Linked DNA regions of Homo sapiens: regions 1, 2, 3 and 4 are each linked to region 5. Evidence: promoter capture Hi-C in 16 types of primary human blood cells and fetal thymus (Javierre and others, 2016). All regions are on one chromosome and are shown on one strand. The core of a region is centred on a gene start or on the middle of the fragment in contact, and the rest is flanking DNA. Distances in the headings are between cores, read along the strand shown. Region 1 has its middle 19 kb from the start of TRPV6. Region 2 overlaps EPHA1-AS1 (EPHA1 antisense RNA 1). Region 3 holds the start of LOC105375541 (a long non-coding RNA gene). Region 4 holds the start of TRPV6 (transient receptor potential cation channel subfamily V member 6). Region 5 holds the start of TAS2R39 (taste 2 receptor member 39).

The links. The method cuts DNA at HindIII sites, captures the fragments that hold promoters and counts their contacts. A CHiCAGO score of 5 or more calls a contact.
Region 1: a contact is called between a fragment that was not itself captured here and the fragment with the promoter of TAS2R39 in region 5, in 1 of 17 cell types (M0 macrophages). The highest score is 5.5, in M0 macrophages.
Region 2: a fragment that was not itself captured here is called in contact with the fragment with the promoter of TAS2R39 in region 5 in 1 of 17 cell types (neutrophils); the score reaches 5.5 in neutrophils.
Region 3: a fragment that was not itself captured here is called in contact with the fragment with the promoter of TAS2R39 in region 5 in 1 of 17 cell types (total B cells); the score reaches 5.2 in total B cells.
Region 4: a contact is called between the fragment with the promoter of TRPV6 here and the fragment with the promoter of TAS2R39 in region 5, in 8 of 17 cell types (neutrophils, naive CD8 T cells, monocytes and 5 more). The highest score is 11.0, in neutrophils.

The regions. Positions count from the first base shown.
Region 1 is chr7:142,902,973-142,907,133 of GRCh38, reverse strand. No RefSeq gene overlaps it. Among named protein-coding and RNA genes, the nearest start is that of TRPV6, 19 kb to the right of the region's middle. The HindIII fragment of the contact is 1,572 bases long and covers 1,438-3,009 here.
Region 2 is chr7:143,504,934-143,509,621 of GRCh38, reverse strand. All of the region lies in intron 3 of EPHA1-AS1 (EPHA1 antisense RNA 1), which reads right to left. Among named protein-coding and RNA genes, the nearest start is that of TAS2R41, 29 kb to the right of the region's middle. The HindIII fragment of the contact is 6,452 bases long and covers 1-4,688 here.
Region 3 is chr7:142,813,906-142,818,505 of GRCh38, reverse strand. LOC105375541 (a long non-coding RNA gene) reads right to left here and starts at 4,309. Exons shown (of 2, transcript XR_001745392.2): 1 at 2,381-4,309; 2 at 1,070-1,750. The HindIII fragment of the contact is 1,453 bases long and covers 1,294-2,746 here.
Region 4 is chr7:142,883,632-142,887,703 of GRCh38, reverse strand. TRPV6 (transient receptor potential cation channel subfamily V member 6) reads left to right here and starts at 1,959. Exons shown (of 15, transcript NM_018646.6): 1 at 1,959-2,315. The coding sequence starts at 2,068. The HindIII fragment of the contact is 18,692 bases long and covers 1-4,072 here.
Region 5 is chr7:143,182,123-143,186,534 of GRCh38, reverse strand. It overlaps TAS2R39 (taste 2 receptor member 39), which reads right to left and starts at 3,116. Exons shown (of 1, transcript NM_176881.2): 1 at 2,100-3,116. The coding sequence starts at 3,116. The coding sequence ends at 2,100. The HindIII fragment of the contact is 8,536 bases long and covers 1-4,412 here.

The DNA of each region.
Region 1 (4,161 bases), core at 974-3,473, 280 kb after region 5:
TCTCCTGACATAGCCATCCTCCATTCCCATCTCCCTTTGCCCCACACTGAGTTGTGAAAGGAACAGCAACAATAGAGGAAGGGTCATCCCTCTCCAGGAGGGAAATTAGGAATCATGTGTCCAGGGCACCCATTATAGGTGCTCATGGTCAGCCTCTCTTGTGTCTCCAGCACTATACTTCTAATCCCAGCCCCATCATCACCCTTAGCAAAAAGCCATGTCAGCTTTTCAAAGGACTGTGGTCTGGGATAACAAAGAAGTAAGTGGTATTTGTGAAACCACAGACAGTTAATTCAGATACACCAGCCCAGGGCTGAGTGCCCAGCAGTGAGGGATTGCACAATGTGTATACACACGCCCGCACACACTGGGACACAGTGGTGGCAGGGTATGTAAAACTGCTCAGTCACCATCATTCTTCTTTATTCTCTTCATAGTAGAAGCACTTTAAAATTCTGCTTCTGTAGTCCTTTTTTTTTTTTCTTGAGACAGGGTCTTGCTCTGTTGCCCATGCTGAAGTACAGTGGTGTGATCACTGCTTACTGCAGCTTCGACCTCCTGGGCTCAAGTAATCTTCCCCCATCAGCCTCCCAAGTAGGTGGCACTACAGGTGTGCACCACCACACCCAGCTAATTTTTGTATTTTTTTTAGAGATGGGGTTTTGCCATGTTGCCCATGGCTAGTCTTGAACTCCTGGTCTCAAGCAATCCACCTGCCTCGACCTCCCACAGTGCTGGGATTACAGCATGAGCCACTGCACTAGCCCTGTAATCTTTTTAATACTTGCTTAACTTGTCTATAAACTTATATGTCTTTTGATTTGAGCCCTTGGCCTGCCCCCAGGTATTGTCCTTTGTCCTGGCTTGTGCACCTGGTATGTAATTAAAATTGCTTACTGCCTAGGTTTTTCACTAAAATAAGAATTACTAAGAGTTAACATTATAAATTAATGAATGTAATTAAAACTACTAGGTACATACAATGTGTATTAAACAGGTAGGCTGTGTTTTTTTTTGGAGAACAAATGTTAAAATAAGTCATGGGAGTGTGGTTCTTTTTTAAGAGAAAGTGTTTTTTTCTAGTTTAGAGGATTTTAAGGACTGTTTCAAGTTAACAGAAACGACAAAACTGAAGGTTTAAGCAAGTCGTAGAAGGTTTGTGGAAGATTGATCTTGTAAAAGGAATTTTGTGTGTGATCAAGTTTGGCTAAAATTTTAAGGGGATTATTTAGATATTATACAAATTGAACATTCATATAAATAGCACATTGATGCAGGGTCAGAATCTGAGCACCTGTGTGAGGCAGGATTTTCTTGGAATATTGATGTGTTCTTTAACACAAATTTGTAAAGTTTATAAAAGCCTCATGGAAATCTTACCTTACAATCAAACTAATTAAAATTTGGTAGATTTGCTTATAAGATTCTATTAAAGCTTTAGAATTAACAATACAGTAATACAAAAATAAAATTTGGTTTTCTCTTTTAAATAAGATTTTTGTATAATATTAAGAGATAGTAAAAGATTTTCATTTGCCCTTTGAATAAACTGCCAAAAAAATTAAAGAAGAAGGAGAGGAGAGACAGATTCAGTTGGCTTCACACTGTCTCTATTAGGTCCTATTTTTTAGAAAACTGAGGTCTTCTTTATCAAGGAGTAAAGATTTCTGCTTTTTTTTAAAATTGGTGAGTTATCACTTTAGCTAAATGATTATAATGACCTGTAATCTCATTTTGCGATATCAAGTGCTTTAAACTTTTAATGTTGGACTAACTTTCCAAGATTAAATTCTAAATGCAGTCTTTTAACCTCAAACTGACTTTTAAATGTCCAACAGAGGCATATTTGGCTTATTTGATATGTTAAAATCATACAGGAGGCATTGCCAAGTATAAAATGGTGTGTAACTTTCTTTGAAATATATTTATATAAATGTGCTATTGTTATGTGTTCCAAAATTGTATAATATTCTTATAATTTTAATATGTCTTGGTATATGTGATCAGTAATAATTATAATTATGGTAAATTATTGTGTGCCACAGAAATAACCAGATTTCCTTGTCAATTATATCTTTGACTGTGGATATCTTTTGTCATTCACAATTATTATTTTACTTTGTTCCTTTTCAAAAAGTTGCTTATAATCAGTTATAGGACTCTGATGGTGTATTAGTTCATTCCCATGCTGCTATGAAGAGATACTTGAGACTGGGTAAATTATAAAGAAAAGTTTAATTGATTCACAGTTCTGCATGACTGGGGAAGCCTCAGGAAACTTAGAATCACTGGAGAATCACCTCTTCACAGGGTGCCAGGAGAGAGAATAAGTGCCAAGCAAAGTGGGTAGCCCCATATAAAACCATCTGTTGCCCATGCTAGAGTACAGTGGGCAACTCACTGAATGAGTGAGTTCTCATTAGAACTCACTAGCATGAGAACAACATGGGGGGAACTGCCCCCCATGATTCAATTACCTTTCACTGGGTCCCTCCCACCACATGTGGGGATTATGGGATTACAATTCAAGATGAGATTTGGGTGGGGACACAAAGCCAAACTGTATCAGATGGATACTTTTAAATGCAGGTTTCTGACAGCTTTGGAGATTGTGCCATTAAAATAGAGGAAAAAAATCTTCCAGGACACTCCTGGAGATCTGATGTATTCATGAGGATTGTTGACCCAATATCAAATAGAACAGAGGTTAATTGCATGAACTGAGCTAATAGAAGACTAAAATAATTTTTTGTGTGATCTTTTTGTCTGAAACATTGGTGATTCTTTTCATTTTTTGGGTTGTTTACAGCTTTTAACAATTGAGTAAAATATGCTCTTGTGAGCAAAATTTAAAGCATATTTCTTTCTCTCTACCTGATTTCTCCAGAATTTGAAAACTATTTTTGAGTATTCTTAATTTATAACAATATAGTTATTTGTATGAGCTCAATAAGAATCTGCTTTCTTTTGTAACAGGACACAATTGGAGACTATTATTTTACTAAAGCTTTGACTAGAATGAAATATTTTAAGCTATAAACAAAACAACAAACTGTTTTAAGGAATTGCCATTGACTTATAGAGCCAATAAAAGATCCTTAAAAAAACTGGCCTTGTACCTTGCCTACACAATTCTTTTACAGGGTTCCCAACCTGTGATAAGTAAAGAACGTTACTTTCTGGCAGGCCCGGGAACCCCAAGTTATCTTGGGATTAAGAAGAGAGGCATTCGCCCAGTTCATACAGATATCTGCAGGCACAAATAAATTCTTGACTGGGCTTGGGGCCTTTAAAAAGTCTAAACTAAGATTCCTTAAATAAAAAAGTTTCCAGCAAAGTCAATTTTAAAAAAGCCTAAATAGAAAATAATTATTCTTGCTGCACTTTATACAAAGAATCAGGTGAAGTATAATACAACTAAAGCTTTTCTACAAATAAATTAGTCCTACTATGATTTGTCTTTGATAAAAATGGAGGACTGAGATAAAAATTATGTTTTTTTTTTTTTTTAAAAAAACATATAAAACACCTCTTCTTAGACCCCACCTTATCAATTGTTTCTCAGTTTCATTCTTTGTTAAAATGCATTTGGACTGAATCCTAAGTCCTTTCCTGGCTACAAGTCTCCAAACTACTGTTCATTTTTTTTTTCCTTTTTCTTTCATTTTTTCCCTTTTTTTTCTCATTTGGAATCTAGAAATTAAAACTAGAAATTTTAATTTAAAATTAAATTAAAATTAAAACTGTGCTTTTCTTAAAGTTCTGCCAAGTGAAACTTGAAACTTAAACTTTGGGAAAAGTAACAGCAAATTATTTATATATATAAACCACTTTTGTGCCTGCCTACTCATTCATGGACTTCAGAGCAATATAGCCTAAATCAGTTTTCCAGGATTACTTTCCCCTTTTGTTGTCATGATCTTTCCTCCTTTTCTACTGGTTTTCTTTCTCTCTTCTTTCCCCTATTTTTCTCTGTGGAACATGAAACTTCACAACCTGCTAAGAATGATCCTTTCTAAAATGAGGGACCTAACCCTCTAGAAATAAACTGTCCTAGTGACAAGGGATCAGACCAAACCTGAGATCAGACACTCACTTTCTTCTACAATGCTTTCCCTGAAAGATTTGGAAGAACAGGGTGGGAGGATGTGAAAGGAAAAT
Region 2 (4,688 bases), core at 1,912-4,411, 320 kb before region 5:
AATGAATGAAAGAGGCTCATTTCATTAATACATATAGAGCTCTTAACGATTAATAAGAAAAAGATAACTCCAAAAAATGGGCAAAGTTATGAATAGACTGTTTGTAGAAAAGGAAATGTAAATAGCCCTTACACAGCGGAAAGGTTTCAATCTCATTCATAAGAGAAAGCAAAATAAAATTATAAAGTTGTCAAATTAACAACACTGAAAGATGACTAACACAGAGCAGGAAGGTGAAACAGGCTCTCTTGTATGTTATTAATGAGAGTATAAATGTATACAATTTCTATACAGGGAAAGTGGATGATATTAATTAAAATAAATGGCATGTATTATTTGTTTCAATGTACTTCCAGGGTTTGACCCTACAAATTTATTTGCTTTGTGGGAAAATATGAATGTTCAAAAATATTCATGTCAGCGTTACTTGGATTATCAAAAATCTAGTAATTTCTTAAATATCAATCAATATGTGACCAATTAAATGCATTTTGGTTTATCCCTGTGATGGAATTCTATGCAGCTGCTGAGAAGAATGAAACAGTTTTATCTATGGCAGGTGTGGAACCAGGTCTCATAAAAGTTGTTAAATGAAAAAAGCAAAGCATGTGATTATGTGTATTAAGGAGTCATCCCTCATTCTACTCTTGTCTTCTGGCACATCTCACATTTTCCCTTGTTATTTCCACTCCTGGAATGCTCTTCCCATAGATCTTCCCAATCTGGCTTTTTGTCATTCAGATGCTGTCTCAACTCAAATATTGACTCCTCAAAGAGGCCTTCGTTGAACACCCCATGTAATGTTGCCTCTCCACCCCCTCTCACATTATCATGCTTTAATGTCTAATCATCTGTCATTACTGGAAATCATCTTACTTGCATTTCTACTGCTAATTGCCCATTCCTTCCAACATAAACTCTGTGAAAGGCCATCTGCTTCACTCACCATGGTATTCCCAGTTCCTATCAGTGTCTGGCATGGAATAGAGTCTTAAAAAATTGTTGAATGAATGAGTAAATAAATCAAGGTTTATGGTATGCTAGCATTTATGAGCAAAAATATTTAATTGTAGCTGGGTGCAGTGGCTCATGCCTGTAATCCCAGCACTTTGGGAGGCCACGGCAGGCCAATCACCTGAGGTCGGGAGTTCAAGACCAGCCTCACCAACATGGAGAAACCCCATCTCTACTAAAAATACAAAATTAGTCAGGTGTGGTGACACATGCCTGTAATCCTAGCTACTTGGGAGGCTGAGGCACGATAATCGCTTGAACCCAGGAGGTGGAGGTTGCGGTGAGCAGAGATTGCACCGTTGCACTCCAGCCTGGGCAACAAGAGCGAAACTCCATCTCAAACAAATATATATATATATATATACACACATACATACACACACATATATATACACATATATATACACACACATATATACACATATATATATATACACACACTTATATAATTGTATGTGCATGTATGTGTCTGTATATTTCCTATGTGTTCTCTACGTGTGCATGTATACACGCAGATAAAGACACACATATTTCTGCCAAAGTAAAAGTTTGGAGACTGGGGAATAGAGGTGGGATAAACCTACGTTTTTCATCGAATACCTTCCTTACATACATGTATGTGTCAGTTATTCAATAAATGCTTTTCAAATAAAAATACAGGATAGGCAGAGGAAGGGGAATACCCAACGGAGTTTTTTTTAAAAGAGCAATCAGAGAAGTAGAAGAAAATCAAACATATTGTGGTGTCATGGAAACCAAGAAAGGGAATTTCAAGGATGGAGTAATCAACAGTGCCAAAATGATACTGCGATTTCTAGAATAGTATGACTGGAGCCAAAGATGGCTTTTAAGATGCCTACTCCAACCCAGAAAGTACTGAATTCACCTGTACAAACCTCAGCGGTGCATGTGCAAAGGTCTACTGACCAAACAACAAAACACACATACAGAAATGCTGTCTAGCCAGAGATCATATAATGACTGCCACACTCCATCCAGGGTTAAAAGAACACAGAGAAGCCATTCAAATCTGTGTAATCAACTGCTGGAATGGGAAATAACATTGTCTTTCATTTTAAATGCTGAAATATTTAACACTGTTTCAAGATTTGTACCCAGATTTGTTTTAATCAGGTAGGGTAAAGTGACAGACACAGAAACAGCTGCCTTTGAAAGAACAGTTTATTACTCACAGTTCCTAAGAGGGGGAGGCAAGCTGTGTCATGCAGGGCCACGTGGAGAGGCATACTGTCTCTTTCTGTCAGGAGACAGAAAAAGAAAGGGAAGACCATGCCCGAGAGACTTGATTGTGGTTTCTATGGGAAGAAATGAGTGAGTGGAGTAGAAAACTTAAGGAAGTCTAAGATAGGATAGTTTGAATAATTTCAGCAGGCTCTGGATGACATGCGTGGTATCTAGTAGTCCAAGACCTCACCCTGGGGTGATTAGGGTGGGGAAAATGTTGACTTGGCATGTGAGAGTTAGATAAAGGAGGTGACTGAGTATATGAGCTCTGGATTGGTTGGTTTGCATCTTAATGACATTCTCACAGGGGACACATTTGCCCCTTCTTCTAAATTCCCACTTGTCCAGTTATCCCAAAGCCTGGGAAAGTATTCATTTACCAGGAACTGCAAACTCTTGGTGATCTAGCCACTTCCCTTCAGCTGAAAGTTGCCACTTCATAGGGACAGAATCTATGCAGTTAAAACAATGGGAACTTTCCCTTCTTAAAGATGTTTGCATACCTAGGAACTAGTTAGCACTGACAGGAGCAGTCTCTCCCAGCCAACAAGGCCTCCAAGATGTTGAAGCATCATAAAACATAGAAAATAAAAAACATAATCAATACACACAGTCCCAAAATGATATGTAAGACAGTGTGCATGGAATAAATTTTTTCTGTAACCCTTCAACTGGACCATCATTAATTCGAGCTGTCTTTCTATAACAAATCCCATCATGGGTCTGAAAACAATGCCTCACCAAATCCTCTCTTCACCACAGCCTCTTACTTCCCAGCTCTCATTTATTTGCTCTGAGACCATCCCTTGTCACCTTCATCAACAGCTTCAATCCTTTGGCCCAGATGTTCTCTCCACCTGTGTGCCACCTAAATGAAGCTCCTTCACTTTCTTTCAAAATCAAGATCTCTCAGACTAATGTTTAATTATTTGAGCCAACACTCTCAACTCCATTGTCTGTGTTCTACACACCCAATTTACAAACCTCAATCCGATTTTCTGACATCTCTAATACAAATCTGTGAGTGCTCAATACTTCTGAAGACAAATCTCATTACTCTATAACAGGGCCACTATAATTCTGTAGGATCCAAACTCAGACGGGCCTCATCCTCTGCTGCCCTGCTATACTGCTATATCAGTGGGCTCCTTCCTTGGCTGCATACTGGAATCACCCAAAGACCTTTAAAACTACTGAAGTCTGAGCCTGACACCAGAGATTCTGATTTGCTTAGTGTATTATTCCATTTTCATACTGCTATAAAGAGCTGCCCAAGACTGGGTAATTTGCAAAAAAAAAAAAAAAAAAAAAGAGGTTTATTTGACTCACAGTCCAGCGTGGGTGGAGAGGCCTCAGGAAATGTGCAATCATGGTGGAAGGTGAAGGGGAAGCAGCAGGCATCTTCTTCATAAGGTGGCAGGAAGAAGTGCCAAGAGAAGAGGAAAGAGCCCCTTATAAAACCATCAGATCTTGGGAGAACACACTCACTATCACGAGAACAGCATGGGGGAAACCACCCCCATGGTTCAATTATCTCCATCTGGTCCCTCCCTTGGAGAGATTATGCGGATTTGGGGGATTACAATTCAAGATGAGATTTGGGTGGGGACACAAAGCCTAATTATATCACTTGGTCTTGGTGTAAGTCAGGCATTGGGGTTTTCAACAACTCCCTTTAGGTGATTCTAAGGTGTAGTCAAGGTTGACAGTCACCGCCCTCTAATCATTACTCCAGTCCTTCACAGTGGAAGAGGCTACCCTGCTTCTGCTTAAATTTAACCCTCCTTGAGTTCCAGATCTCATCTTCACCTACCTCCTCAGAGAGCTCATACATTATTTACCACTACTATCTCCCATGCTTAGAACCCAGGTATATGAACATCTTTAAGGTAGGAAAGTTCCAATTATTCTAATTGCACAGGTTCTTTTTCTTGACATAGCAACTTTCAACTGAGGGGAAGTGGCTAGATCACCGAGTTTGCAGTTCCCAGTCAATGAATACTTCCTACAGAAGGTGGGTAACTGGACAAGTGGACAGTTAAAAGGGGGCTGTAGGGAGGGAACTAGAACACCACTATCCAGAAGGAAAAAAGAAAAGGTGAAGTAAATGTGGAAAAATACTTATTAAAATTTAATGAAATTTCTCTGCATATAAGACCATTTCCCACATCTAAGCTGAGGCTCACTTAGAGAAGTAATATTTGTGTAGCCCTTTGGGGGGCAACATTTCTCCAAGATATTTGAGTTGTAGGTAACAGCTAAGCCTTTATATTAAGCCTATTAATGACTTAAGTCTTTGCCTGGAGCTTCTGAAGTACCAGTCCCACATAGTGGAGATTAAGATTTTCTATGATCCTCCTGACAATGGACAAATGTACCTCCTTCATCTTACAATGGGAGGGGAGGCCTCCTAACCACACAATCTCCCT
Region 3 (4,600 bases), core at 771-3,270, 370 kb after region 5:
TGTTTTCTTCTCTCAAAGAGTGTTGAGCTTTATTCTAGTGGGCAGTTGACTTGCTTGCAGGTCAACTTGTCTGCTTTTCCTTTCAAGGGCTCTTTTAAGCTTTGTTAGGGTTAATGGACGGTAGACTTATTCTATGCCATTTGAGTCCTACTCTAAGTTATGGGCTTCCTGGGATACCTGTTCAATGTTCCAGGTATTCAACAAAGCTATTCTGATGGCTCAGAGCTGTATCTCTCTCAGCCTCGACCAAGATCTAGTAATTATTCATACTGTAGTTCACCAGCAGTTGTTAATTCTCCAGTACTTATTCTTTGCCTGCCCCTGTGGAGTTTCACCCAATGGATGCCAGCTTAGTATTTACCCAAAGACTCAATGAGACCTCATGAAAATTGCGGGGCTCTTTCCGTGCATGGCCTCCTCTTCTCTGAGCTGTGTCCTCAGCTCAGTAAGAATTTCAGGGTGCCATGCTCTGCTTGGGTCCCTCTTGTTTGTACAGTAACCCAGGAAATTCTGGGTAGAAAACGGAAATGATCACAGCACGCACCTCATTTGTCTCCTTTCACTTATGGATCACAGTTTTGTGCCATCTCTTGTCCAATATTAGAAAACAATTATCTCACGTATATTGCCCAGTTTTCTAGGTGTTTATTATTGGAGGGTATAATGGATTGAATTATACCCACCATCCCCCCAGAAAAAGATATGTTGACATCCCAACCCTCAGTACCTCAGAATGTGACTCTGTTTGAAAATAGGGTCATTGCAAGTGTGACTAGTTAAGATGAGGTCATACTGGAGCACTGTGGACTCCTAATATGACTGATGTACTTGTAAGAAGACAGCCGTGGGAAGACAGAAACACACAGGGAAAATGCCATGTAATGCCAAAGGCAGAGTTTAAAGTTATGTAGCTGCAAGTTAAGGAATGTCAAAATTTGCCAGCAAATCAACAGAAGCTAGGAATAGGCAAGGAAGAATTTCCTTCCAGGTTTCAGAGGAAGCATAGCTCTGTTGATACCTTGATTTTAGACTTCTAGGCTCCAGAACCATGAGACAATAAATTCTGTTGTTTTAAGTCACCCAGTTTGTGGTACTTTATTACAGCAGCTCAAGGAGAATTACAAAGTGGATGGATTGAGTACAAGTTCCTTCATCGTAAGTGGAAGCAGAAGTTCCTAACTCTTTTAGTATTTGTCATCTGAACTACTTTTCTATCTTTTACCTCCTCCAATAGATAAGTTATTAGAAGGCAAATATTGCTTCTTGATTTTTTGTTTTCCGTCTATCTAAGCTTGAATTTTATGTGCACGTAAGGTAGATGTGAAATTCATGGGCATCAAATATGGGTGGGTAAAATATAATTTTGTTTTCTATAATTAAAATTATTCTATATCTAGATCCTTGTTGCATTGGGGTACACATGATTAATTCAGGGGTTTCTCAGACAATTCATGCTTGTCTCCCTTTCCTTTTCTCCCCGGGTAGTGTCTAAATTCCAGGGTGCTTATAAAAGCGCTTGTCAAAGCATTGTGGGGAAGGTACTTGGTCTTTGGTCATCATTTAACTTTCCTTCATGACTCTCATTTGCACCATCATCAGCACCTGTCCCCACTGATATCTGCTGATCCTCGGTGTGTCTGTCTGTCTGTCCTTCAGGTTGTTTTGATCCACGGCGGGTACACTGTGCCTTACACATTTCAAACACGATGTCTCTTCAGGCTTGATGGCTTCTCTCAGTTAATCTGTTTCCCTGTGAATGAGAAAATGGCTATTCCTGATCTATCCTGAGATCTTTGGGGATTCTTGGAGACTACCTCAGGTCCCTCTGTTAAGACACATTCTAGAGCCATGTATGTTTTCCACTGCTGCTCTAATAAATTACTACAGACTTAGTGGCTTAAAACAACACAAACTTATTATCTTACAGTTCTGTAACTCTGAAGTCTGACACAGGTTTCACCGAGTTAAAATCAAGCTGTCAGCTAGGCTGCATTCTTCCCTGAGGGCTCTAGAAGAGAACCCATTTCCTTACCTTTCCTAGCTTCTAGAGGCCACCTTCATTCCTTAGCTCATGCCCCCTTCTACCTCCAGGGCCAGCAGCATGGCATCTCTCTTGCCTGCTTCCATGTCCACATCTCTTTCTTTGACTCTCTTCTGCTTCCTTCTTCCATGTTGAAGATGCTTGTGATTGTATGGGGCACACCTGATTAATTCTGACTACTCTCCCTGTTCTAAGGGCATCCAATTAGAAACCTTAATTCCATCTTCAACCTTAATTCCCCTTTGCCATGTAATCTAACACATGCACAGATTCTGGGGATTAGAATGTGGACATCCTTGGGAGCCATTATTCTGCTGACCACAAGTCATTTCTACTTACCAGTCTCTAGCCAGTATGACATGTAGGGACCCAGGACCTTGTTCGTCTCATTCTGGAAATAAGCACAATTTTCCTCTGCCGTCAAAACTTTTGAATTTCCATTTCTTCTCTCTCCACCTCTCTCTCATCCCTTTCCTTGATCAGGATGTGGATAAGAAGAGGTAAGTCACAATTCAGGGCATTCAGGAGCATCTAATTGGCTGACTCTCCCTTCTTTCCATTAGCCCAGGTAATTTTTAACTCTTCTGTAGAGGAACAAATAGGCTTTGCAAGTATCTTCCATTCCTATTATATAGGAATATATACCAGTTTTAAAATTAAAAAGACGAGTTAGTTCTTATTGCCATTCTCTTCATGTATAAAGCTTTCTCTTGTTGGCAGCAATTCATTAAGAATCTAGTATGGAGGGAAAAAGCTGAAGATGGTAACAAAAAGACTTGAAAAGAGGCTTGCCAGAGAGGTGGACACGTTAAGATGACCAGGACATGTTAAGATGACAGTTCCAGCCAGCTTTCAATTCCGTAGGGCACCTCCAGACCCAGGCCAGATGTGCGGCCAGGACTCTCCCATTAGTAGATCTACTGCCACAGAGCAGAGGGATCATATCCCCATCCTCTTTTCAATACATGAATGACTTAAATGATTGAATAACTAAACAGTATTGCAGATGGGGATGGAGATTGAGGAGATTTTTTTAAAGGCATCAGCCATATGGAAGGAGCTTCCAGCTACTGAGCTGTGACAATGATCAGGAGCCAGGAGCCAGCTGGTTACTCTGATCTGACTGATACATCTCTTCACCCTCCAATCTGCTGCAGCATCTCTAAGAAGGAGGATTACATTGCTGTCTACATGTGGTAATGACACTGAGCTGATGCAGCTGATGAGTGAAGTCAGGTCTCATAGGATACGCTGGTGTTAAAGACTGCCAGCCAGAGGAAAACGTGATGCGGTACCCTTGAGAACAAGAGCAATTCTCATTCTTTCTCCCTGTATCTCCCACCACCCACTGTCCACTTTCTCTCCACCCCATCCCCACTCAGGACTAAATAAAAATTTCAAAAGCAAAGAGGAAAGAGAACAGAAATGGAAAGAAAGGGAGGAATAGGCTATGTGTGCACATATTTATTTTGGCTTCACTCTCTGCAATCCTAACATGCACAGATATTATATTATCAGATTTATTAAAAACTGAGATTGAACAACTGTTCAATGAAAACTGCTCTTGCGTTGGCTATAGCTATTTTTCATCATATGTTCCAAATGTTCACTGCAAGCAAACTATATTTACCACTTGATTTATCATTTAAATAAATGTTATAAGAGGATTAATTCCATTTTGAAATGATAAAAAACAAAACATTCCCCTATACATATGGTGTATTCAAATGCAAACAAAAAAATGTGCTACAGCCAAAACTGTCAGAAGCAAGAACCCCAACATTAACTTGGAATTGTGTTACTGTAGCATCAGCAACAACAACAAACATATGACATCACTAGGCCCTGATGAAATGGGAAAGTGTTACAAATGCTTTATTTGCTTAAAGCTTATTCTCCCTGTTCAGCCACTTTTACGGCTTTCTTTCCTGGGTTTTCATCTCAAACCGCTCCACCACATCCAACCCAAACTAAGTAATTGTTCTGAATATGAATCCTTCAGAATACAGAGCATGGCAAAGACAGAGGGAAGAGGAGTTTCCAAGGGTGTGCTGGTGTCCTCCAGGCATCTGAAGGTCTTTTGTCCCATTTCAGCAGAATGACATTTTAGCAGCTACCTAGCAGAGTCCCATGCTTAGCTATTATGAATCCTTACTATTATGAATTCGTGGCTTGACTGTGTTTTTTGTGGCTCGTGATCCCTTCAGCCCCTACCTTCCACCCCATGCCATTGTAAATCTCCCAATCTTTGCTGCAGACATAGGGAGTCAAAAAAAAAAAAAAAAAAAAAAAAAAAAAAAAGCCAACATATGTAAGAGTGCCTGCCTGCAGTGCACCAGGCAAAATGCATCTTTCAACAATTTTTAGATATTGTCATCATTATTTTCACTTTATAGATAAGAAAATTGAGAATCAGGGTTTGCTTGAGAGTTCCCAAGCCAGCAAGAAGCAGAGCTGTGAAATGAACCCAAATCCATATGATTCCAAGTCTCTGTGATGTTTCCTATTACTCATATTGCATTTAGAGGATAAATTAGATCTAGTTGGCCCATTAGAGAC
Region 4 (4,072 bases), core at 710-3,209, 300 kb after region 5:
TCAGCATCCACCTCCCTCCACACACCGACTCCCCCCACACACAGCACATATGACACACACCCCATGACATACATACACACACAACACACACCATACATACACACATAGTAAACCCACCATACACTACACAAATCATGTATACACCACACACACACACACACATCATGTACACGCACACATACCTTAAAGGTACCATATACATCACCCACTACACACCATACACACAACACACATGCAACAATCTTTCCACAATACGTATATACACAACACACATGTCACACATACCATCACAGACACCACATCCACACGCTCTACAGGCCATACCTACACATATCACATATATCATACACACGTAGACACATACCAAACACACCACAGGCACATCATATACATACAGCATACCACACACAAAACACCCCACCGATGCACATCATGAACACACGCATAAACACCACACACAAATGCACATGGGCACACACGCCATACACACGCCACACACACACTCCCCTGGCTGGGTCTTCCAACTCTGAGTCAGAGAAAGTTAGGACAAAACAGACTCTGAAGCTAGGAAGTGATCCACACACCTGTGACTCTGAACACCCAGACACCTGCCCCTAGGCTATTGGCACCTGGCTGGCACCAGGAGGTTGGATAAGCCCGGGCTTCTGCCCCTTTCCAGTGGAAAAGTTGAACTAAATGACCTTTCCGACAGCTTCCAGCAAGCTCATGATGGAGCTCTTTGTTGTGGGAAGACGATGGGCCATGCTTAATGCCATCATTCTTCTGTATGACTGTGCGAGTCACTTAACCTCTCTGAAGCTCTGTTGGCCAGTTAGAATGAGGAGGTGTGCTAGGGAGAAAGAAGTGGGCTTGGAATGAGGGATGGGTGTGAATCTTGCCTCTGCCACCTCTATGGCCTTGGGAGAGTTCCTTTACCATGGTGAGCTTTGGTTTCTCCCATCAATACAATGTAGATAATAATACCTGCCTTGCAGGTTTGTTACGAGTTTACCTGGGAACGCTCAGTTAAAAGGCCCAGCACACAGTAGCAGCTGAATGTCACCTCCACGGGAAGGCTGGCAGATAGAATACTTGCAAAACGTGGGGTATATTTATACTAAAAAATTCTTTGTTGTTTATCTAAAATTCAAATTTGACCACGTGTCCTGTATTTTATCGGGCACCCACCCCATGCACGGGGCATTGTGGACAGTCTGTGGAGCTCCTGAGCAGGGGGTCTGCCCAGAGCTAGATTTTGTGCCCTGGCTGGTGAGCGAAGAATGCATTTTACATCTTTGGGGGTGGTTAGAAAACAACCACCAAAACAAAACCAAAGAATAACGTACATTAGAGAGTGTACATGGCTTGCAAAACCTAACATCTTTACATTTCCTATCAGCCCTTCCAGAAAAAGTTTGCTGACCCAAAGGTGATGGGGACTGAGAGGAAAGTCTGGGAGAACTGAGTATCTTCGCAATTTATATACCTATTTCAGGCCTGGCAAGAATGAAACTGGAAGAGTCCAGAAAATGGAATTCTCCAGGACATAAGCAGGGGGAGGCAGAGAGTGAGGCAGGTGGTCGGCAGAAGAGGCACTGTGGGAAAGTGGGGCGCTCCCTCCTGGGAGTCCTCAACATTGGGAATGGGCCTGCCCTGACTCCTCCCCTCCTTTCTCACTGCCTAGAGTCTCTCAGGGTAGGTCACTGGGTGTTCTGACGTCCAAGGGAGGCCTCGCCAGTCTTTCTGAAGGCCTCCCTGGTTGTGACTGGCCTGGGGGCAGGGAGAGAGCCCTGGGTGGAGAAAGAATTGGAGTTGGCACAAGTCCCCCTTGGTAGGCAGGTCTGTGGCTGGCCTGTGTCTTTAAATCTCAGGTAATTTGGGAGGAGGGAGGGCGTGTCCGTGCAGCTTTGGCTCCTCCTGCTCACTCCCAGCAGGAGCTCCAGACAGGCCAGCCCTGCAGAGTCCTGGCTGGCTCTGCCAAGTGTAACAAACTCACAGCCCTCTCCAAACTGGCTGGGGCTGCTGGGAGACTCCCAAGGAACTCGTCAGGAAGGCAGGAGACAGGAGACGGGACCTCTACAGGGAGACGGTGGGCCGGCCCTTGGGGGGGCTGATGTGGCCCCAAGGCTGAGTCCCGTCAGGGTCTGGCCTCGGCCTCAGGCCCCCAAGGAGCCGGCCCTACACCCCATGGGTTTGTCACTGCCCAAGGAGAAAGGGCTAATTCTCTGCCTATGGAGCAAGTTCTGCAGATGGTTCCAGAGACGGGAGTCCTGGGCCCAGAGCCGAGATGAGCAGAACCTGCTGCAGCAGAAGAGGTAAGGCCCCCTTGGTCTGCTCCCTTCCCCACCTCCCCAGGCCTGCACCTCTACCCCTCACCCCTCCCTCACCTCCCGTCTTTGTTTGGCACCTTTGGCTGGACAGATGGTGCTCCCAGGCCCGGACTGGCTCCTTGGGAGCATTCTGTCTTAAGAGCCTCAGCCTGTAGGGCTGGTGAAAGAGGATGGGGTTGAGATGGGCACAGGTGTTCACTATCTTAAGATCTAATTCGATTCTGCAAGCCTCTTGTGAGTACTTCTCTAAGGGCCAGGCGTCTTGCTGGGGCTTGTAAGGATAGAGCATCACAGCCCCTCCACCCAAGAGGGGACGGCAGGTGAGGACAATGCCTTCTGTATCTCCACTGCTTGCCTCTAGAACAGTCTCTCTGGCAGGAACACATAGTATACATATGTTCGCATGGAGGAATGAGTGAACGATTGAATGAATGAAGCAGAGAGAACCGCGGACACCAGGAACCAGAAAATAAGACAAAATGTGAAAAAAGTGACCATTCCTATGTATCTGTCTCATCAGACACTGACCAAGGCCTTACTATTTGCCCAGCACTGGGGGGATATGAAGACCTACAACGCTCAAACCCAACCTTGAGGTGTATTTCTCTCTCAGTGCGGGTGGGGACTGAGGGGAAGCGGGTCAAAATAACAGATGTTCCGAGGACCTGTGCTCTTCCGCATTCAGGTGGTGGAAATCGAGACTCTAGCGTTTAAGCCCTAAGGACATTCACTGGTGGCTTCCAGCCCCTGAAAACTTCCTAAACCCGTGTCCTGCTTTCTTCACCATGACAGCTTGGAGTACAGAGCAGGAGAGGAGCAGGGAATCGGAACTCAGGGCTATCCCTGCATGTGGTCTCTTCTTCAAGGTCTCTAATAGAGTTCTCTACCCAGTTGGTGGCATGCTAGAAGGAAGTCCTGCCTGTTGGGGCTTTCCCTGGGTCACGAAGGAGGCAGATGTCTGGTCATAGAGGAAAGCCTGAAGTCTTTGTGCCTTAGGGTTTTTCTCTGACCCCAAGAGTAGGAGCCTGCTTTAGCCTGACCGGGGAGGCTGCCTGGAGGCCCCTGTGTTTTCTTTTGCTGAAGGATTCTGGGTTGGGGATGGTCTCTTTCTGTGAATTATGGCTTCCCATCTCTCCAGCCGCCCACCTCTCCCCCAAGGCCTGGGAGAGTGGGGACTGGAGCACATGTTTGGCTGATGACATCTTGGGGCAACAGAATGGCATTGTTGTTAGAGAGTAGGTCGTCCTCACTGGCTTCACTCATCCTCTTCCCACTCTTAGGACCCCAGGGCCAGGGGATCCAGGCACAGAGTGCAAAAAGGCCTGGGGGATTGGAAGGGGTGGTGGAGATTCCCTGTGTGCGATATCAGGGGAGAGCAGAGGGGAGGCCCTGCGCTGAGTGGCTGAGAATAGGCTGCTTCCGCATGTCCTGTCTGCCCTCACTTTTCCTCAGATCATATGGGGGCTGCCTCTGCAGACTTTGGCTAGAAAGGCTTGATGTCACCCTTGGGAGGGATCCCCCCTCCCTGCCCTGATCTCCTTACTGGCCTCCGCACTTTCTTGGCCTTCTTCTTGCTGGATATCAGGTGTCCAGAGCAATGACTCTTCTTTGGGTGGGCACTTCCCAGAAGGATGCTGAAATTGCCTGCAAGGGGAGTTTCCTAATCTGTGCCGTCAACCAAAGAGAAGGCATGGGGGCATTGAGATAAACATGGGATGACTAAGTAAATAGGAACAATATGG
Region 5 (4,412 bases), core at 1,867-4,366:
TAAAATTTGGCAGTCGACTTTTTAGCGCTGACATTCAAGGATCATCGGATGTTTAAGGAAAGACTCGATCACGAGAGAAAACAAACTGAAACACATAGAAAAATGAAACTTGGAGGAGGAAAAAATATAGAGGGAGTAGAACATAGTTAAAACATGTCTAATGATTTTTTTTCATTGACTGGCACCCTTTCTATTGAATATTGGGGATATAGGCAGAAATTGGTGGATTAGTAGATTCACTAATGGGAAAAAGAGGATTGTCCTTCAAATGTTGCCTGACAAAGACTTTAAGGGCTGAAATGGGTCAGGGAGAAGAGAGGCTGAAGGTTTGGAGACTGAGAAAAAGATGTGAGATAGTCATTGTGGGGACTTTAATGAGTGACTTCTCTAGGGAAATATGGGATGGAAATGCTCAATGAAGTTACTCGTTTGAGGCTGAATAGCATGAATTTGTAGGAACATGAACTCATCCAGTTCTGAAATACTCTCAAGTAACACTCAGCTGCTTAGAAGCAAACACAGAATGTTAAATAGTCATTTAAATGTGGGATTATTTCACATTTAGAAGGGTCAGGAATTTAGAATATTGTATGATTTATTTATATAAAAGCTATATTAGGGAAATTCTCAAACATATTCTGAAATAGAATAGTAGAAAGAACTCCACATGCCTGAAGCCTTGTTTAAAAAAACATTAGCATAAGAATAACCCAAACCACCCCGTTCTCTACTCCTTTGTCCTATGTTGGATTAATTCAAAGCAAATCACAGATACAGCTCATTTCATCTGTAAATATTGAAGCTATTTTTGAAGGGTGAGTATAATGATTGACCAGTAATCCAAATTGAATATGAAAGGAAGAGAGGACAGGCCTGATAGAGGGACAGAGAATATAGAGGTGTCAATGGATTGAAAGCCTGTGATGTTTAATTTGTGATTTGTTTGCATTTTTAATAAAACCCAATAGTGAGAGAGCCAATCAACAAAATAATGTGCACTATCCTTTCTCTCAAATCTTTTTTACTTACCAATTCTCTTTCTAATAAAAATCAATATAAATCTTTTAAAATTTTAAAATTAGTGAATACATGTTCTAAGTAATTCAAACAATGCATAAAGGCATAAAATAAACGGTAAATATTTCATTTATTCCCCAGATACCCAGTGACACCACTCAGAAGCCCTCTGTGAATTATTTTTGGTATATTTGTCCAGAAACTTTGCATGTACATATATATACATACAAATATATAAGTATTATGAAAAAAAGAAATACAGATGGAATCATAAAATATCTCCTTGCTTTTTGCACTGTGTATTGGAAATCTTTTCATCTCAGGAAGCATGCATCTATCTCATTTAAAAAAGGTTAACATAATATTCATTTCAGACATTCAATTCCCGTCATTCATGAACAGTGCAGCTGTGAAGAGCCTCTTGCACATATTTTTGCTTATTTATACAAAACCATGCTTAGAAAAAATTCTTAGTAATTTTTAGGATGAAAGGTGTTTTATGCATTATTAATTTTGATAAATAGTTCCACATTATTTTGGTTATATCTTTGAAAGATGGAGACAAAATGCATTTCAAACTTCTGCTCAGAAAACTTCCCAAGTTATCTAAATGTGTTTAAAAGGCATGTGGAGGGAGAAAGAGAGTTGTCAGGAACTAGTTTCAGAACATTCTTCTATTTTGGTGGCTATACAACCCTGCTGCACAGCAGAATCACCTGGAGATCTTAGAAAATTGTGTGAGTTCTAACACTAGAAATTCTGACTTAATAGATCTGAGATTGGGTTTGAACATTGGTATTTTCAAAAATCAACCTAGAGATTCTAATGGGTAGCCAGTGCTTAGAATCACTGCTTTAAACAGAGCAAGGGGAGGTAGAGGGCTCAGGTAAAGAATATGACAGTACCACTAAGATTGTACCCATGAAGCAAAAAAGAAATGATCAATTTCCTATATAAAAAGCCACATCAGGCGAAAAGGGTCAGATGAGGGTTGGAGAAGAAAAGAAGAGAGAAAAGAGAGGTCTAGGTGAGGGAATGGCAGAGCTGGTAAGGCCAGGTCCTGTGGTCTTCTTGGGTGCTGGTCACAGAGTCCACTCTTTTGGGTAAAGATGAAGTCGAAGCTGAAGCCGCTTCCAGGCTCTTCTCAGCCCAGGGTTATCTTGAATCAGTAGAATTGAGTGGCTGGCAGGGTAGGCAGCCATGATGATCTGGCACAAATTATTCCACAGACTGTTGATGTCAAACATGTTGGACAGGTAGATAAACAGAGCAACTGCATTGAAAATGTAGAGAATGAGAAAGTAGCTGATAGCTTTGATGGCCCCCATGTGAGCCTCCATGCTGGGGTCGTTGGACCCTGTGGCATTGCTTCCCATGTGTAGGGTGTGTCTCTTGAGAGAGAGGATCAGCAGGGTGGCTGTCAGGATGAACATGATCAGAGGAGTCACAATCCCCAGGTTAAAGAAAAAAGCCAGACCGACCACATTGATCTCAGACAAGTATGTTTTCTTAGTGGAGTTGGAGGAGTGGATAGGGAAAGAATTGTTACAATACACAGTGCAGATGTTGATGCAGAACATGCTGTGACTGAAGGAAATAAACACGGACAGCCACAGAAGCCAGGGTATCAATCCAGTAATTCTCCACCTCAGTTTGAGGAAAAGGGGGTAGGAGAAATTGGCAATCTTCACAAAGTAGAAGAAACTGAGCCAGGCAGCAAACCACAGGCTACAAAAATTTAAGAATATAAAACTTATTTTGAATGCATAATATACAGCGTCTTCAGAATAAAAACTTAGGGAGGTTGAGCTGATGGTAATTTCTAACATCATGAGGCTTTGGAGAGCTATTCTGGATACACTCAGGAAAACCAGGATCCTGCCACTTGTGGAAACTGCCTTATTTTGAACCCATTCAGCTGCATGTATAGCCATGATGAAACCATTTGCAATGATACCAATGAGGTATTCAGCAAGTAAAACTGCTAAAATTAAGGTGATGAGAAATGGCGACAATTCACTTTCTGCAGGATCGCAGAGTTTAGTCATTCTGAGCTGTTGCTTCTCTTTGGTGTCTGGAGGAAAACATCTCCCTAGCATTTGATGGGCAGACTCTTGATAACTCCCAGTATTGATGTCATAGGAGGAAGCAATTGATGTATCATTTCCAAATTCACTGCATTTGTTTATTTCAGAATTCTTAGCTCTACATCTAGAGATGCAAATGTTGGAAGGATTTGGTTTCTAATCCTCTCTCTATTTTTGAACATGTTGGTAGTGGTTCAATAATGAGGCCCAGGGAAGCGCTTGAGTAGACTCTTTAAAAGCAGCTAACATGGTACTGAGGTCCGTGTTCTTTGGTAGCATCAGTTAATTTGAACATTGGTTAACTGAGTCATCATTTAACTTACTTTCACTTGTGACTGCAGAAAATGATTGAAAATAAAAACTGCTACACACATACACACACACACACGCACTTCTCATTTTGTGCTAAGAAATTTTCAAATGATTTATTTATAATTACTACATTTAAACCTCACAACAACCTTATGAGCATGTGCTTCTATTACCTCCATTTTGCAGATGAAGAAACTAAGGCATACAGAGGTTAAATAACTTGGCCAACATCACACAACTAGAGCGTGATAGAACTGGGATTCAAACCCAAGTCACCTGGTCGCAGAGTTCCTCCTCTTATCCACCATGTTATGCTACCTAGACCTGTGGATTCTTTTGTGTGCCCAAGACTAAATGCAGGGTTGATTCCACTATGACATTTTTTTCCTGGTAGCCTTTTATGTCCCCACCCTCTAAAGAAAAATCAATAAAGCAAGAAGACACTGATTTTTAAGAGATAGGACTCTCTTTTCAAAGTAGATTACTTGAGAGGTAATAAATTTAATTATACATAAAAGATCATACACACACACACACACACACACATATTCACCTTTCATTTTAAGCAAAACTAGGAAAATAAGAGTTGAAGGTAAAACTCCCTAGTTCCTAGCAAGGTAAGCTAGCGAACCTGAGAATAAAAGCAATGTCCCAATTCATCCAATTTTGGAATATTAAAACAAAAAGAAAGGAAAAAAGAATCACTTTTATCTTAAGGAATTTTTTTCTGATTTTAAAACGCAAGCATAGGACACATAATGATAAAATGGACTTTTCATTTCAGGGTAAATTAATTTTTATGAATGTATGTAACTTTAAAATAATGATGAAGTAATAATTCTAATAAAGAGAAAGTTGGTGGGTGAGAAGTCTCAGAAAATCTTTATAACATTTGGTTTTTACTTAAAGCCTTTTAAAAACAAGGCAAGAACTCATAAACGTTTTCTGGCTTGATTAATGATTTTAGATGAGTTGTTACGAATTTTACCATCTCAT